2 separate regions of the Homo sapiens genome follow, and region 1 is linked to region 2. Evidence: promoter capture Hi-C in 16 types of primary human blood cells and fetal thymus (Javierre and others, 2016). All regions are on one chromosome and are shown on one strand. Each heading gives the region's core, a stretch centred on a gene start or on the middle of the fragment in contact. The rest is flanking DNA. Distances are from core to core; before and after follow the strand shown. Region 1 has its middle 870 kb from the start of LINC01966. Region 2 holds the start of QTMAN (queuosine-tRNA mannosyltransferase).

The links. Contacts are between HindIII fragments. The CHiCAGO score rates a contact against its expected background, and 5 or more counts as called.
Region 1: a contact is called between a fragment that was not itself captured here and the fragment with the promoter of QTMAN in region 2, in 1 of 17 cell types (M0 macrophages). The highest score is 5.2, in M0 macrophages.

What each region holds. Positions count from the first base shown.
Region 1 is chr2:145,750,364-145,754,580 of GRCh38, forward strand. No RefSeq gene overlaps it. Among named protein-coding and RNA genes, the nearest start is that of LINC01966, 870 kb to the left of the region's middle. RefSeq lists an enhancer at 1,672-1,721. The HindIII fragment of the contact is 6,682 bases long and covers 1-4,217 here.
Region 2 is chr2:144,329,777-144,334,007 of GRCh38, forward strand. QTMAN (queuosine-tRNA mannosyltransferase) reads right to left here and starts at 2,736. Exons shown (of 12, transcript NM_001376312.2): 1 at 2,663-2,736. RefSeq lists a silencer at 2,411-3,010 and an enhancer at 2,792-3,369. The HindIII fragment of the contact is 4,019 bases long and covers 2,131-4,231 here.

The sequences.
Region 1 (4,217 bases), core at 1,033-3,532, 1.4 Mb after region 2:
TAAATCAAACTTGGGGTGCTTGCCAGCAAAAAAGTTCTTTCTTATCTCAGTAAATAAGTGAGGGTGGGCCTGATAAAGGCAAGACAATTTGGTAAGAATATTGTGATAGGGGCAACGGGTGGGCTTTGATATGGTTTTATTGCCTGCCTCATTTCAGTTTTTGGCTCACACACATTTGTCCACAAGCAGTGTCAGTTGGCTTTTTCCTTTCACAGCAGATTTTCTTACCTTGTAAGTAGAAACCTACGTTAACCCTCTGCCAGTAAAAATAAGAGAAGCATTTTCTAAGCATATTTCTAATCAGCCATTCCTCTCAATAAGTGGATCTGTAAGACTGCAAACATAAAACATTGTTTTCTAGTCACCCCGATTTCCTAAGTGTGTAAATCCCCACATCTCTTCCCCTTTACAGCGCGCTCTCACTTGCATGCTACTAGTTTGCATTCTAAAATGCCACCTGTTGAAAATAAAAGTCTCATGATATTTGCAAATTTTGGTTCATCCTGGTTTAGCTTTACACAGCAGTCTAATTTCACCGTGCTTAGCAATTACTTTTATTAGTTACTCCACCCAACAATCATATGATGTCAGAAACTTCATCTATTTCCCTGTCTTTATCTCTCCCTCTCATTCATTTCTTTCTCTTTTTTCTCACATATTAACACACATACACCCAGTTATTATCACTCAAATCATTTTAGCAGATCTCTACATGTGTCTCAAAATATTCCATATAACTCAAAATAGCAAGTACTTGAAAAGATAGTTATCATCCCTCTGAACAGGCAAGAGCAACTGAGACATAGAGATATTTCTCTGATTAGAGATTTGTTGTTTTAGAAATAAGTTACATAAAATGTCCTACTGCTTTTAGCTGTATCTGTTGCAACTTTGAGCAACTCAGTTTCTTCATTGGATAATATGAGGGCAGTGGATGAGGTCCACAGTGTCTCCCAGGGATATCGTTGTACAGTTCTATTTCCTCCAGGGCACATGTGAAATAAGTGAGGGATCTTTATGTAGACACAGCTTATCAGTCCCAAAACAGTGTCCCTCCTGTAGATCACACATTTTCTGATAATAACCTGAGGGGAAGAGGGGCAAGGTTGCCTGTTTCCTGACATCCTGCTTTGCATACCCAAGACACCTACTTTATTAAAAAGTTAACTTTGCTCCAAAAAAATTTTTCCCTAAGTTTTTCAAGATTGATTGTTTCCTGTTATTGTTGGAGGTTTGCTTTCTATGGTCATTTGGTAAATAAATAGCTTTATAGGGGAAAACAAATGGCCTTGTTTTGTTTTTCTACTCCAGGGTTTATGTGTTAAATTTCAGCTATGTCGTGTACTCACAGCTTAGTGCTTCAGACGGTTATGGGGAACTAGGAATTCTTAAAGGGGTAGGACAGGATGTCCTTTTCTATCGCTCAATGAGTCATGGAGGATGAATGCCGTTTCAGGGGTTCTGTAGTTGTGATTTCAGTCAAGTTCCAGTGGCTTTCAACCACTTCTCTAAATCTGAATGAAGAAGCAGCCACAGGGACTGTGTGAATTATGCTAAGATGCATTCCCGTTAAGTGCTGAAGTGGCCTTTGCAGTGAATCCTTAAACTTTACAATGCCAGCAACAGCCTATCCAGAGACAGGGCAGAACCCCGACATATACCCTCTTCCATGCCCACATAAGACATTTGCATTTATCTCCATTCTTATTGCATTGAGCATCTCTGTCTCCTGGTCAGCAACCTCTGTGTCTTTGGAAAGTCAGGCCTCACTCAGAGCATGCTCCCTTCTCAGGCATTGTGACAAGATTGTGTTTCGGTTCCAAAGGGTTAATCCCAAAGTGAATTCTTTGCATGTGTAATTCAATACTTCATAACTGCTGAAAATTGGAGTCCACATAATTTATTTTCTTTGGTCGGGCACATTTGCCTCATGCTTGGCCGGGGCTGACTTCAGAGAGACACACCTAAAACTCTCAAGTGTCCCAAGTGGCCCATGTCAGTTGTACAGAGAGATTGTGGTACTTGGACAGAGCCCAAGGATTAGGTGTTCCTGAGAAGGTTTTTTTGGCTCTACAAAGCCTTAGGATGTCATGGGAATAGGCTGCACTCCCTTTTCCCCCTTGAAGGCCACATATCAACGGGGTATCTAACCACTCAGAGACAGGCTCTACACAAAGGTATACATTAAAATAAATAGAACATGCAAGCAGAAAGAACTGAAAGAGAGGGAGGAATTGCTAAGTGGAGACAGGAAACAATTGCTTCATTGTTGAGGCAGTGATCTTAGAATTGCAGAGTACAGCCCCATCTACAGGACAGTTTGTAAAGTTGGAGCTTTTGGCTTAAAACACGAGACAGAACTTTACATGCAGTTTTTAATCCAGCTCACTTTGCATGGGCTTCACCTCACTGACAAAAATCCCACATTTTTACTTAAAAATAATTGTCCCTCTTTGATGAGAGGGATTCAGAGAGTGACAGAGAGATAAGAAGTGAGGAAGAACGCGGCTTAAGGGTGCTTTCATTTAGCTCCTTTTCTTATTTTGGCAGTAAATATTCTTGTCCTCGCAATACTCATTTAATCTCTTTCTTTGCTTTCCAACAACTTCCTCTCATTTGGTTTCCTCTCATTATTCCTTGATTTGGGAGGGGGCTTGTGTATTTTCACCATTCAAACAAAATAAAAAAGCTGTGCTTGTTTGAACACCATTTTTGTGCTGGCTGGCAAGCATGTGACTTTAAAGAAGGTTCAGGTTTTTAGGTTGAAAGGAGCTGAAAAACTTTAAAGTAATAATTAAAGCCAACTCTCTACGTGCACATTCCCTCCCCTCCCTTTATTTTAAAAACCTTGCCTGCCAACGCAGTGGCTGCTGTCTTAATGCTATTTCAACAGGAGACCTGGGTTTCAGGACAAGATCCAGGCCATAGGGGAGACTTGATGGCTCGGGGAATTAGTAATGGGATTTGGAGCCCTTCATTTCTAGGTCACTGGTTTGAATAGAGCCCAGGTCAGTAATGACTGAAAGTTGTTACCACCCGATGCCTGCTCTTCCTTAGCTGATCTGAGCTTGCCTGCCACTCCATCCCTGAGTGCCTGTGGCCCGTCTGCACTAATGGCATTCATTGACAAGTTGGCTAACTTAGGCCTTAAATGTGAGGCAGCCCAGTTTCTGCCATGTGCAAACACGGGGTCCACACTCTGCTGCAGCTGCTCTTCAGGGAATAATGCAGAGAGAGACAGAGTTACAAAGCTATTTTGCCTTTCTGATTACTCTGGGACCTAGCAAATCTATCTCCACTCACCTTAAGTCTCTGAGGCATTATATCTTCAGCCATTTAAAGGTAAGATCCAGGGAGAAGAAGGAACAGGCCTCAGAGGACCAAGTTTTCAAATACTCCAAATGTATGTATTCTGAGAAGACCGATTTAAAAGATCTGAATTAGGAGCTGCTGCTGCTGTTTCTAGTACCAGATAATCATGGCCCTTTTAAAATACCGCTTGCTGGACCCCAAACCTGTGCTTACAAAGTGTAGAAAGAAGGCAGATGTTTCCAGAACTTATATTAGGAAAGTGTTTGAAAAAATAATTACTGCTTTCTTTTTGTTTGTTTGTTTGTTTACAAGAGGAGAAATGCTTGCTGTAAAAGGATGGAGATAGAGAAGGAAGGACTGTGGAAACTCAAGAACAATGCACTACATTGGCAGTTCCTGCAACCTGCTACAGCCGGAGGCCAGTCTCTATGTGCAGAGACAAACTTGCTCTGGAGCTGTGGTTAAAGAGGGGGAGGAGCTGGAGTGGGGACTAGGTGCCTCCGGAAAGGATCTGAGGCCTTTCACACAGCTACCTGTCAGTCCCTGGGCCCGGGGCTGCAACCTACACATGCTTCACTCTGTCTCTCCAACCAACACCCCTTCCCTAGAGGCAGGTGAAGCCCCTTCCCAATAAAGAATTACATTATGTATCATCAATTAAGAAATACAATTATATAAAGACCCATTTGTATCAGTCTTATATTTAGATTTCCTTTTCAGACAAGGGGGTTTTTAACAGCATTGATTTTCAGTAATAAACCAATTACAGGTTCTTACCACATTGCTAAGATACTGGATGAAAAGTTTTAACTATAGAGTTCGGTTAAAGTGGGTAATGGAAAACACAGCACTATGTTTCCATTTGTTTCTGATTTACTACTTCCAGCTCTACATTTATTCCTCTT
Region 2 (4,231 bases), core at 1,486-3,985:
TGAGTTAGTTCAAGTTTACTATATCATGATTCAGGACTTCCAGGCACTCTGCTACCTTCAAAAATTAGATTAAGCCCAACAAGATCATAAGCATTTAAAGAGTACCCACTACACATGATAACAGGTATACACAGATGAGTAGGACATAGCCGAACTTTCACGAAGCGCCTACCAGGAAAGTGCGCACAGGCCAACAAGTATTTACTAAATGTCTACACTAAACACTGTACTCTGGGATGTAAAAAATTCATCGCACCACAGCAAGAACTTCAGGACTCATGCACTTGAGGTCCACTTTGAAATGCGAGATTGGGCGTGCTGGAATTAGATTATTACATGTGATAGGATTTCCCTTCCTAAGTGATAGTCATGCATCACATGACATTTCAGTCAACAAAACATCGAATATACAACTGTGGTCCCATAAGATTATAATACCGTATTTTTACTGTACCCTTTCTAAGTTTAGGTGTGTTTAGGCACAGTATTCAGTACGGTAACATGCTGAACAGGGATGTAGCCCAGGACTAATAAGCTATATACCATATAGCCTAGGTGTGAAGTAGGCTATACCATGTAGGTTTGTGTGAGTACATTCTATGATGCTCCCACAAGTACACATTTCTCAGAACATACCTGTCATTAAATGACACATGACTAAACCACGGTTTATATACACCATAACTCTAAGACTCTTAAAATACCAATCTGCTGGAAGTGACGTAGGCTATCCGAATCAAAAATATGAATCGATTCTTGAAGCGCAAGATAATTGCTAATTCAAAAACACTGGAAAGTAATGTTTAAACTCACAGAATGTAAATACTTCCTAACTATGTACAATTCATGGCATTTTAATCTAATGGGTCCAAATCATAAATTAAGGAAAAAAATTTCATTTAATTACTTGGCTTTTTAAGATACCATAATCAAACAAACTTTAGTACCATAATCAAACAAACTTTAGTACAAGAGGTCTGAATTACCTAGTTAAGTGTTTAGTTAATGAAGACTACTAGTTCTATTCAGCTCCTGCTAAATCTCATCAAGAAACTGTCTTCGATTCTTAATTTCTCTATAAAATAATGGGATTGGATTATACTGTTAATGTTCCTTAAACATCGAAAATTCTGTATTTCTGTGATGCATAAGATTAAAATGCCAACACAATTTTCAAATCAAGACTAAAGAAGCCATCTTAACCTTTGCAAACTGGTGATGTTAAAAAATTTACTATTTCCTACCTTATTGCAAGTATCATGCTTCAGATTTTACCTATTCATTGTTTTCAAGCATGTCAAAGAAAGTTTCGTGATTCAAGAGGTACTCCTCTAATCCTCAATACTAAAACTGTTTCATTAAATACAGTACAGGACCCTAAGGAAAATGTATACCAAAAGGGAGTGGGAGCCGAGAAGAATCTAATCCAAGTCAGACCTGGAACGCACTAATTAAAATTCAATATTTCACTTGGTATGTGGGTTCCTACATGAAACTCCTGTCATGGTTAAAGCTTAAGGTTAAACACGTTAATAGAAGCCAATAGAATGGCTCTATTGAATTGTACTGAACTTCTTTTTCAGCAGCTCCTTTACCTAACCACTATTTTAAGCTTTAAAATCAACTTCAGGGGTAGGCACCAAATAACCAAGTGAGCCACGGCAGCCGGGGCTGCAAACTGAAATCCATCTCGTATGGAAAATCATCATCAACTCACGTTTTCCATTTCAAACTGCGATACAGGTGGAAGAAAAGCTGTAAAAGCCTTCTCTTTGAAACTCCCATCACACGGCCTCAAGGCATTAACTTAAGAATCTCAAGATAACCTAAAGCAGCACAGTTGTCAGAAGACTCTAAAAGTTGTATGTGCGAGAGAAGGCAAAAAAACTACTTCGGGACTAAAGGTTAAATTTCGCTGCTGCATTCCCAAGACTTAAATTCAGAGAATCTTTCCACCTGGACAGAATGGGATTGTCTGGATCCCGATGAAAATGGGAAGTTATGTGCTTAATCCTCAGACGAGGGATTCCGGGGTGGGGGGCACAGTGAGGGTCTTCACACTCGGCTGGCAGAGAGGAGTGGGGCGCTGGGGAGGTCTGGTAACTGAGGGCGACTAGGAGCCAGAAGCGAAGCTTTCCGTCAGGAAGGCCTGGGGCTCGCACTGCAAGGGGCCAAGCGCCGGGCAGCCTGGTGGTCGGCGAAGCACCCCAGCCAACTCAGGCCAACCCGGACGCCCGGCCTCCCTTCTCCCGCGCGAGGGCGACGTGCCCCCACCCGTCCTCTCAGCCTGCGCGAGGAAGAAGCGGAGCGCCGGGCCGCAGAAAACCAGCACGCACGACATGTAGGCACCAAAAAAACGCAATTCGAACACGACCAGTTTGCAGAAGGCACAAAATGCCACGGCGTGACGCCCCATTCCGAGCGCGGTGCGGACGGCGGCGCAGGGAGCGCAGCGCGTGCGCCCGGGAAGCGCGCGGCTCTCAGCTCCGCCTCCCCCACACCCCCCGCCCCCGGCTCCCCGCGCCGCAGCCGCCGCTGCTGCCCCTCTGGGATCTCCGCGCAGCGCGGCCCCGCGAGGCGGGCGCCGGGGAGGGGAGGGGAGGGGCCGCGCTCCCCGCCTCCCCGCTGGCCCGCGCGGCTCCCCAGCCCGGAGCCTACTCACCTCCTCCTCCTCCTCCTCCTTGTCTCTCCCTCCTGGCCACCGGCGCGGCCCAGCCGGCGACGCGCTGACGCCGTGCCCCTCCCCCGCGGCCGCCGCGGATGCCGCCGCCCCTCCCGGCCCGCGGCCGCCTCGGCCTCCGGGCGCGTCAGGCGCTGGTCCCGCCCCTCGGCCCGCCCGCGCAATCGAGGCTCCGCCTCTCTGCGCCGCCCGGACTCCGCTGGCGCGAGGTCCCTGAGTCAGCGGCGCTCCCGCCCGCGCGAATCGCTCCGCCCCAGCCCGCGGGCTCGGCTCCTCGCACCTGCCCACTGTCCCCCGGCCTCGCACTGCTCCCCACCTCCCTGTGCGCCCTTTCCCATCTCGTCAGCACCCTGTCCGCCCTTTCAGCTTTTTCGTACTCTTTCCCCAACCTCCTAGTCCTGTTCTAAGCTCGCATAGTCACCTTCTCTTTCCTTCTGGAAGGTCTGTGCTGTTCATTAGGTCGACCTCGGATTCCCCGTGCAGTTTTCCAGCCGGCCCGTTGCATCTCCTTTCCTGGTCCACTCCCCGGCCTACTAGAGCCTCAGGGCCCCTGTGCGGGTTCCTGGCTCCCTTGCCGACACCTCTACCTGCTCTGCAGCCCGGAGCTCCTCCACAGCTGCTTTGCCAATGCCTCTTAATATCCCTCCTTCTGGACCTCCTCGATTCCCTCCTGGCAAGGCTCATGCTTTCCTTTATCTCCATTTTTCCCGTCCTTTCGGTTCTGACTACTCCACACACTTCTGATGCAGTTTGAGTATTCAATAATTGCATATTCGCGGTCCCATTTACACGAGGAGAGTCACATTGAGTAATTAAAAATCACAAAGCAAAGCGACAGCAGTGGAGACCATCATTTGACTTGCATAGTTCCATCTATATTTTCCTTATGCAATAATATTCTCATTGCCACTTGAATTTCAAGGAATGGGATTTTCTGTTGGGGCTTAAAATTCACAAATGTTGGATGTTTTTTCGCTGCGACCTAATTTCACTTTAGCTCTTTTATTTATAGAATACATAGTAGAAAGAGTACCAGGAAGTCCCAGGTGTTCTTGACTGTAAAGTGAGGAATGTGTCCCTTCGTTAAATTCCTTTATGAAGTAAAGGATCCTTTCTAAAGTAAAGGTTTTTGTATCTGGAAGGAGGTTGTAGGTTAAATGACTCTGGTGAAGGCAAAACATGCAAATATAACTGGATGTCTGGTTTATTAAGTAACTTCATTTTTAAAACTGCAACTCGGAAGAGTTAGGCTGTGATGTGGAAATGAATTAGGAAACATACCAAAATAAAGGAAATCGATTAGGTCTTTGTACTTATATCCACAAGTTGCTTTAAGTTATGTGAGTAAACATTCTTATCCTTAAATTGAAGCGTCGAAACTATCTTCCGTTCCAAACAAAATCCAGCTCTGTGTGGACATTCAAAGTTTAAAACCATTGTTGAATTGAACAACAGCATTGTAAGCATTTGAAAGCCTAATAAACCATCTGTCCATCCACTTTCACACAAATTGAGAAACAGAAAAGAGTAAATGCCAAAACCTGAAAGTGA